2 separate regions of the Homo sapiens genome follow, and region 2 is linked to region 1. Evidence: promoter capture Hi-C in human tissues and cell types (Jung and others, 2019). All regions are on one chromosome and are shown on one strand. The core of a region is centred on a gene start or on the middle of the fragment in contact, and the rest is flanking DNA. Distances in the headings are between cores, read along the strand shown. Region 1 holds the start of MYO18B (myosin XVIIIB). Region 2 overlaps GRK3 (G protein-coupled receptor kinase 3).

The links. The method cuts DNA at HindIII sites, captures the fragments that hold promoters and counts their contacts. A contact is called where the count stands out against the background at its distance.
Region 2: a fragment that was not itself captured here is called in contact with the fragment with the promoter of MYO18B in region 1 in 4 of the 25 tissues and cell types used here (aorta, mesendoderm cells, spleen and 1 more).

The regions. Positions count from the first base shown.
Region 1 is chr22:25,740,517-25,744,599 of GRCh38, forward strand. It overlaps MYO18B (myosin XVIIIB), which reads left to right and starts at 1,672. Exons shown (of 44, transcript NM_032608.7): 1 at 1,672-1,777. The HindIII fragment of the contact is 19,978 bases long and covers 1-4,083 here.
Region 2 is chr22:25,639,942-25,644,024 of GRCh38, forward strand. The region is part of intron 2 of GRK3 (G protein-coupled receptor kinase 3); the gene reads left to right. Among named protein-coding and RNA genes, the nearest start is that of GRK3-AS1, 77 kb to the left of the region's middle. The HindIII fragment of the contact is 4,965 bases long and covers 1-4,083 here.

The DNA of each region.
Region 1 (4,083 bases), core at 422-2,921:
GCTCACTGCAACCTCTGACTCCTGGGTTCCAGCTATTCTCCTGCCTCAGCCTCCCGAGTTGCTGGGATTACAGGTGCCCGCCACCACGCCCAGCTAATTTTCGTATTTTTAGTAGAGGTGGGGTTTCACCATGTTGGCTAGGCTGGTCTCAAACTCCTGACCTCAAATGATCCACCCGCCTTAGCCTCCCAAAGTGCTGGGATTACAGGTGTGAGCCACCATACCCGGCCTAGACTGCCATTTTCTAAGCAGCCTTCCCTTAGTGTTTCAATGAACTTCTGATTGAATGCTAATTTTCAAGACCTCGGCAGAAGTGAGTACTTTGGGAAAATATTGCTCGATGAGCTCTGGGGAAAGAGGAGCAGCACCACATAGCAATTATTGAAACAATTCTCACAGGAGCAGTATCATGCTGGGCTGATTGCGGTCTTTGGAACCAGAAAGACTTGGATTTGAGTCATGACTCTACCCTTTGCTAGCTGCATGGACCTGCATGGTTTATCCAATTTATTGAAGTCTGTACTTTGCTCCTTTTAGGCAGTGGACAAAGCACTTTTTTTGTTGTTGTTTTTTTGAGATAGAGTCTCTTATCGCCTAGGCTAGAGTGCAGTGGCGTGACCTTAGCTCATTGCAACCTCCGCCTCCTGGGTTCAAGCAATTCTCCTGCCTCAGCCTCCCAAGTAGCTGGGATCACAGACAACCACTACCCCACCCAGCTGATTTTTTTTTTTTTTTTTGAGATGGAGTCTCTCTCTGTCACCCAGGCTGGAGTGCAGTGGCGCGATCTCGGCTTACTGCAAGCTCCGCCTGTAGCTGGGACTACAGGCGCCCACCACCACGCCCGGCTAATTTTGTTTTTGTATTTTTAGTAGAGACGGGGTTTCACTGTGTTAGCCAGGATGGTCTCAATCTCCTGACCTCGTGATATGCCCACCTCGGCTTCCCAAAGTGCCGGGATTACAGACGTGAGCCACCGTGCCAGGCCCAAAGCACTTTTTTATAGCCCCTAGTTTGCTGTTGTGTCTGTTTCCTCTACGGCCCGCACAGCCTGGGTTTGAATTCTGGCTCTCCATGGCCTTGGGCAAGTTGGTTAACTTTTTGTGTCTCAATTTCCCCACTTGTAAAGTGGGGCTGGGGAAAAACCCTACCTCATAGGGAACATTAAGTGAGTTCATGAAAGCCCTCGGTGTGTGGCATGCGATAACCACTACCTAAGCATAAGGTATGTTTACATGCACTGGTTGTTTACCACGACGCACCAGCATTCATTCAAGTTATTTTCTTCCAGAGTCTGCCTGGAATGTAGAACCGGCCAGCTCTCCTCCTCAAACAGTTCCTGCAACCTCTGGTTATCTGTGTGGGCAGAGGCGGGAGTGTGGGTGTGTGGCCCTGCCCTGGGACAGGGATGACGAGAGAGCATGTGCTTGTGTCCAGAGCTGTCCCCTTCCCTGCTCAGGGGCCACCAAATATGTCCATGGTCTCTGCTGCCTGGTCAACGGCCACCCCGGGCTGCCGTCTCCTGGCCAGACCTGGAGCTCACAAGCTAATTTTAGAAATGACTGGTCGACTCAGCTGCTGCTATCACATTGGCCCAGAAGGAGGGTGGGGGGAGGACGGGTCGGGGAGGGGCAGTAAGGGGAAGGGATGTGTGTCGGTGTGTGTGGAGAGGGTGCTCCTTCGCTCCTGCTTTCCCGGCTCGGTGGGGTCCCTTCGCGGCCACCCGGGGAGACGTCTTAGACAGTCGTGGTTCCTGTGATCTGTGTCCTCTTTGCAGAAGGTACTATTGGGCTGGGTTTTAGACGGGCACCTTGCGAGCGGATCGGCGAGTTTTAATTTTCCGGAATGCGCTGCTGGGGGCTGCGGTGGCAGGCCTCCGGTCTTTTGGTCTATTTTAGGCCTTTCTGGTGTTGAGAGCTTCCGAGGCCTGATTCCTTTGCCTGTTGCCCGTGCTGCTCACTTTGAAAACAAGAGTGTTTCGGTGGAAGGATTTGAGAACAAAATGCTGGGGCAAATGGACATTCGTAAGAATCACTCTCCTCAGGCCCCAGCTGTTCGCTAATAATTTTTAAAAATGTGTTTAGAATCATGAGTTAATCTCCACTGTGAATCTTTGCCCGCAGACGTCAGGGTTTATATTTTTCCTCAACTACCAGTAATTTCTGCTTCACTGGTGTTCAGTTATGGTCGGGGAAGAGCCAGGCTTCCCCTTTCGTGTTAACAACGCTGTTGAGTCGAAATGTTAATTTTAATGTTCTTTTTTAAACTGCAAATTAAGCATGTATGAGTGTTGGGGGAAGGGCAATGGAAGTTCATGGCTGAAGGTTTCAATTTCATGCCACCTTCCTTGAGCTCTGTCTGAGGGAAGGTGTCTTATCTGGCACCCCGGATAGCAGGCATTTCTCTGAATGAAGAAGATTCACAGGTCCCAGTGGCCCCATAGTGGGGCAGAAGGGGGCTATGCTTTGACATGGAGCTCTCTCCCAGGAGAGGAGAAGACCTCACCAGCTACAGGCCTCTGGGCTGCTGCCTTCCTGCAGCTTTTCCATGGAGGAGGCCAGGAGTGGGGAGGCCCGGAATGGGGAGCCCAGTCGGCTCCCAGTCGGCTCCAAGCTGTCCAGTCTGGCCTCAACCCGCAAGTGTGGGGATCTGGGCTTCTATCCTGTAGGGCCTGGAATACGACGAGGCTGTTACTTTCACTTTGTGGCTGTCCAAAAAGATGCTGCCTCATTCAGTGCACCAGCTCATGGAGGCTGAGTGTCCCACTAGGGCTTCTAGACTCCAACAAGGATAATGGTGGCCTTGGGTGCTGTATCCATTGCTGACCTAAGTTGTATTCTCCTATGCCTGGGTACCATGTCCAGTGTGTACCTTGGGAGCAGAAAAGAGAGGGGTCTATATACTCTTAGGCTATGGATGAGTTCTAGAAAATAATAGTGGAGAGGAGAGAGAGAAAAGAAGGAAGAGGAGGAGGAGAAGGAGAAGAAGAGAAGGAGGAGGAGGAAAAAAGCAGGAGGAGAAAGAGAAGAAGGAGGAGAAGAATAATAGCAAAGGAAAAGGCCAAAAGAAAAGGCCAAGTGGGTGGAGGAGGGAGGAGAAGGAGGAAGAGGAGGAGGAGAGGGAGTCTCCTGGTCTCCTGGCTTTTGAAGGGCTGCATGTTACCAATCAACAAATATTTGATGTCACCTGCCTCCAGGCCTGGTCACCTTGAATATCCTGGTGTGGGCTCTGTAACCTTGGATGAGTACTCTCCCCAGTCGGAACTTAGTTTCTCCTTCTAAAACCTGAGGGGGTTGGGCTAGACCACCTCTGGGATCTTTCCTAGGATTCAGCATCCAGGAAGGTTTTTCTTGAAGTGACGGTCGTTGACGACCTACCCATCAGACTCATGTGGGGCAGGAGGCGGGGGGCTGTTTTAAAATGCAGATTCCTGGGTTCATCCTAGACCTTTTGAACAGTCTTGGGGGAAGGGGCCCAGAAATCCACAGATTTTAAACCTCACAGGTGGTTCTGGTGCCCACCCAAATTGGAGAAGAGCTTTTCCTTTCACTTGAGCTAACAAAACCACAGAAGGCTGTTGCTCAGCACCTGCCCTGTCAAAACTCATGGAATTTCCATGTTTCACAAACATGGAAAACGTGCACAGCACTTTATTAGGGTCTAACTATCGCAAAGATTTTATTGGGCAGGTGTTCCTCCAGGGGTAAGATCAAGACTTTCTATGGCATTTTGAGGTGGGAATGGAGGGCCCCCAAACTGAGCAGAACCACTTCCAGCTGCCAAAAGATAGGGACCTGGGGCTGTGAGCCTACAAGGCTATGGGGAGATGGCCCTTCACTGGGTCCTGCTAGATACAAACAACTGTCTGAATGGCCCATTTGAAGCACATGGTCAGCTGCTGTGGTGTGTGGCATATCTTTAATATTTAAACAAAGTGGCCGGGCGCGGGGGCTCACGCCTTTAATCCCAGCACTTTGGGAGGCCGAGGTGGGCAGATCACGAGGTCAGGAGATCGAGACCATCCTGGCTAACACGGTGAAACCCCGTCTCTACTAAAAACACAAAAAAAAATTAGCCGGGCGTGGT
Region 2 (4,083 bases), core at 487-2,986, 100 kb before region 1:
TTAAAATTCCATTTTAAAATTGTGTGCTATGAGTTTATAGAAATTTCATTGGTTTTTATCTAATGACCTTATGTCCTGTGGCCTTGCTAAATTTACTTACATATTCTAGTAGTTACTTATAGATAGGATTTGCCAGGTAGGTAACCAGATTGAATAGAATCAGTTTTAGTTCTTCCTTTTCAATTTGAATAACTGTTATTTCATTTTCTTACTTTATTGCATTGGCTAGGACCTCCAATACAATGTTGAAGAGGAGTGAGATTACATATTGCAGCATTTTCTTATCTGACATGCATTGTATTTTGTTTGTCTCACAGCTCAGAAAGGCCTTACTGACCATTCTGTCTGAAATACATCTTCCTCTTTTTATCATTATCTCAGCATCATACTTAATTACTTTATATTCCTTGTCATAAATTATATGTATTTCTTTGTTGTCTGTCTCTTACACTAATCCGTAAGCGCTTTATTGGAAAAACACTGTTTTCACAATCACATCCTCAGTGAATAACACAGTGGCTCTTAGTAGATACTCAGTAAATGTTTTGTAGAATTAGTCAATATTGGGAGGAAGTTTTAGCAGTTATGCAGTCTATTCTCCTTACTGTCTTAATCTCCTTGGCAAAACTGAGGACAAGTATTTTTTCTTGCAAGAAAATTTTCATATTTCTCTTTTCACCTTTCTAATTTTTAGGAGATTTAATTTCAAATTTTCTCATAGAAACCACTTATATTTAATACTTTCAAAAGTTCTTAACTTACATTTTATAAAAAGCAATACAATTCTTTCTACTAATTTTTGAAAAATTATCGTGATGGCGGGTGTTACATACACTAAAAAGTTAATCAATATTCAGCATTTTGCAGTGGTTCAAATATAGCAACAAAGTAAACACATTTCACAAATATCTACTAAGCAGGTGTTAGGTCACCATTTTTTACTCTTTAAGATCTGGAGAAATTGCAGCGATGAAGTGAACTTGTTAGGCAAAATATTTCCTTATTTTTGCCTCTCATATTTTGCCCTAATCTAGGCCATGCTTCATTTGCTTTTTATATAATTTAAGGCTGATGAAGGTAAGTTGCGTTCAGCCTAGGACACAGTGATCTAGGATTTAGCCAAAAGGCAAATATCTTTCTTCCTGCTGCTCAATTTTAGCAGCTCCATTTAAACAGCTGGTAGAAAGTAAAGCTTCAGTTTATGTGCACATAGGAGGAAAATAATATTTTGTGTTTTCTATTGTGTGTTGAACTAAGTCCTTGGCTTATTCTACTGACCGACAATGGAGATTTCCTTAAATAAATAGGTAAACACATTCTAAGTTGGGTGTTCATTCATTCAACTCCCTCTTTCCCTCATCCCTCCTCTTTCTGTCCTCTTCCTTCCTCCTTTCCCCCGACTTCCCTCCCTCTCCTTGTACCTTTGCTCTTTCTTCTACCTTTCTTCCTTTGTTCTCTCTCCTGAGCTCTGTCTTTGTTACAGTCAATGCTCTTGTGCAAATGTAGTAGAGAATAAAACACCTGTACCCTATGCATTGCAGCTTACATTGTAGTGGGAGAGGTAGACAGTAAAGAAGCAAATATAAACATGCGACAATTTTTGCTCATCGTAAGTGCTACAAAGTGTTTTGTGGTGTGTGTGTGTGAATGGATGCGAGATAGAGACAGCAGGACAGTGAGAATGAATGAGAATCATGAAAGGCCTCCTCAAGGAAAGGGATATGTGAAGTGAGCTAGTGAGCTGTTCATTTAGAAGATCCAGGAAAAGTGTGTGAGGCAGTGGGAATAGCCGGTAAGAAACCCTGAGAAGGGAATGAGCTTGGTGTCAGAGAAACTACAGTACAGAAGCTTGGCCTAAGTGAAGTGAGCTTGGGGGGAGCACTGTGAGATGAGGCCAGAGAAGGAAATGGTGACTCCAGAGGACGTGGGTAGGCTATGGTGAAGAGTTTCAGTTTGATTCCAAGTGTAGTCAAAAGACAGTGGTCCATGTGTGGTATTATTTCATTTTGTCATTTAGACATTTTGAAAACATCTCTAATTTGATCAAAATACTTAAGTTCAAATTCTCATGTTAGTTTTGTCTTCCAGAAATAGAAAAAGAAATACATGTGGCAAAAACTGACAACATTGAAAAAAGATGAACAAATCTACAATTACAAATGGAGAGTTCAACACTTCACTGTTGATGATGGATAGAATAAATAGACAGATGGCCGCGCGGTGGCTCACGCCTGTAATCCCAGCACTTTGGGAGGGCAAGGCGGGTGGATCACCTGAGGTCAGGAGATCGAGACCAGTCTGGCCAACATGGTGAAACCCCGTATCTACTAAAAATGCAAAAATTAGCCGGCCATGATCGCGGGTGCCTGTAATCCTAGCTACTCGGGAGGCTGAGGCAGGAGAATTGCTTGAACCTGGGAGGCAGAGGTTGCAGTGAGCCAAGATCGCGCCATTGCACTCCAGCCTGGGCGACAGAGCAAGACTCCATCTCAAAAATAAATAAATAAATAAACAGACAGACATTCTGTAAAGATTCAGAGGATGATCTTTTATTTCTATGGATTTAGGGGGTACAAGTGCAATTTTGTTACCTAGATACATTGCATAGTGGTGAACTCTGGGCTTTTAGTGTACATTGTACTCAATCTGTGATTTTTCATGGCTTACTCCTCTCCCATCCTCCTGCCTTTTGGAGTTTCCAGTGTCTATTATTTTACTCCCTATGTCCATGTGTACCCATTGTTTAGCTCCCACTTGTAAATGAGAATGTGCAGTATTTGAGTCTCTGTTTCTGACTGACTTCACTTAGGATAATGGCCTTCAGTTCCATCTGTGTTGCTGCAGAGGACCATCTTGAAGAACTCTATCAAGCCCACTTGGTTTAATTGCCTTTGTATTCTTTTAAATGAAACACTCCACCCTATAAGAACAGAATGCACCCTTTCTTCAAGTGCCATACAGCATTCCGTTAGATAGACCAAAAGTTTCAATGCATTTAAAAGCATTGAAATCATACCAAGCATGTTCTCTGACCACAACAGAGCTAAACAGAAAATCAGTGTCTGAAAAATCCCCAAATATTTTGAAATTAAACTACACCCTTCTGAAGGACTCACGGATCAAAGAAGAAATGACAAGGGAAATTAGAAAGTCCTTTGAAATGAATAAAAATGAAGAGACAACGATTACTCTTAAAATCAGAATACTAACATACGAACAGATAGAGATGTGTATCCTTCCCATTTGCCTGCTTCTTGAATTTCCTACTTCCTGCCTATGTTGGGGTCGTTGCAGTTTCTCCATGGGAGGAGCGTGGCTGTGCTCCTGCTGCAGGTGTGCGCCTGACCCTGGTAAAGTCTGGCTATGCCTATTTAACTAGTACTCTTAGTCATTCTACTCTAGTTTGAGTGAACGAACACTTACCATTTTCAAAGGCCACGTTCCGGGAACTATGAGGGGAATTTATGGATCAGTTACAGACCAGTTCAAGTTACAAGATCCTTATGCTAATGTTAATTAAAATCTCATCACAGCCACTTCCTTTTTCAGTCCCACCTGGGGAATTCTGGTCCACTTCATCTCTACATGGTAGACTTTGTGAGTCTTTCTTCAGTTCCTTTCTGCAGCTTCTGTTTCTGCGAACTCTCCGTTTAATTGTTTTGACTTTTTGGAATTTTATAATCTTCAAGTATCTCTACCTTCAGTCTGGTATCAGCTTGTTCTATTTAATTTTGTTTATCTAGGCGTCACCATTAGGCATTAAGCTAGGCACTAGGTTTTCAAATGGAATGGGAGCCTTATAAATCAGGTAATTAATTAGTGTGTGGTAAATATTTTGACAGAATGTTGGAAAGGCTAAGTAAACATTCATTCAGTGAACATTTATTGGCCACCTACTGTGTACCAGGCATTGTGCAATAGGGTCTGTCTCATCAGAGAAGACTTCAGAGCACAGTTGGCTTTTGAGTCCAATTCTGGTTATTTCAGGAGTTTTCAAGGTACAGAGAGGGGCGTGGTATTCTAGGCAAAGGTGTTTAAAGGTGAGGCTTGTAGTTGTGAAGGAGTAAAGCATGACCTGGGAAT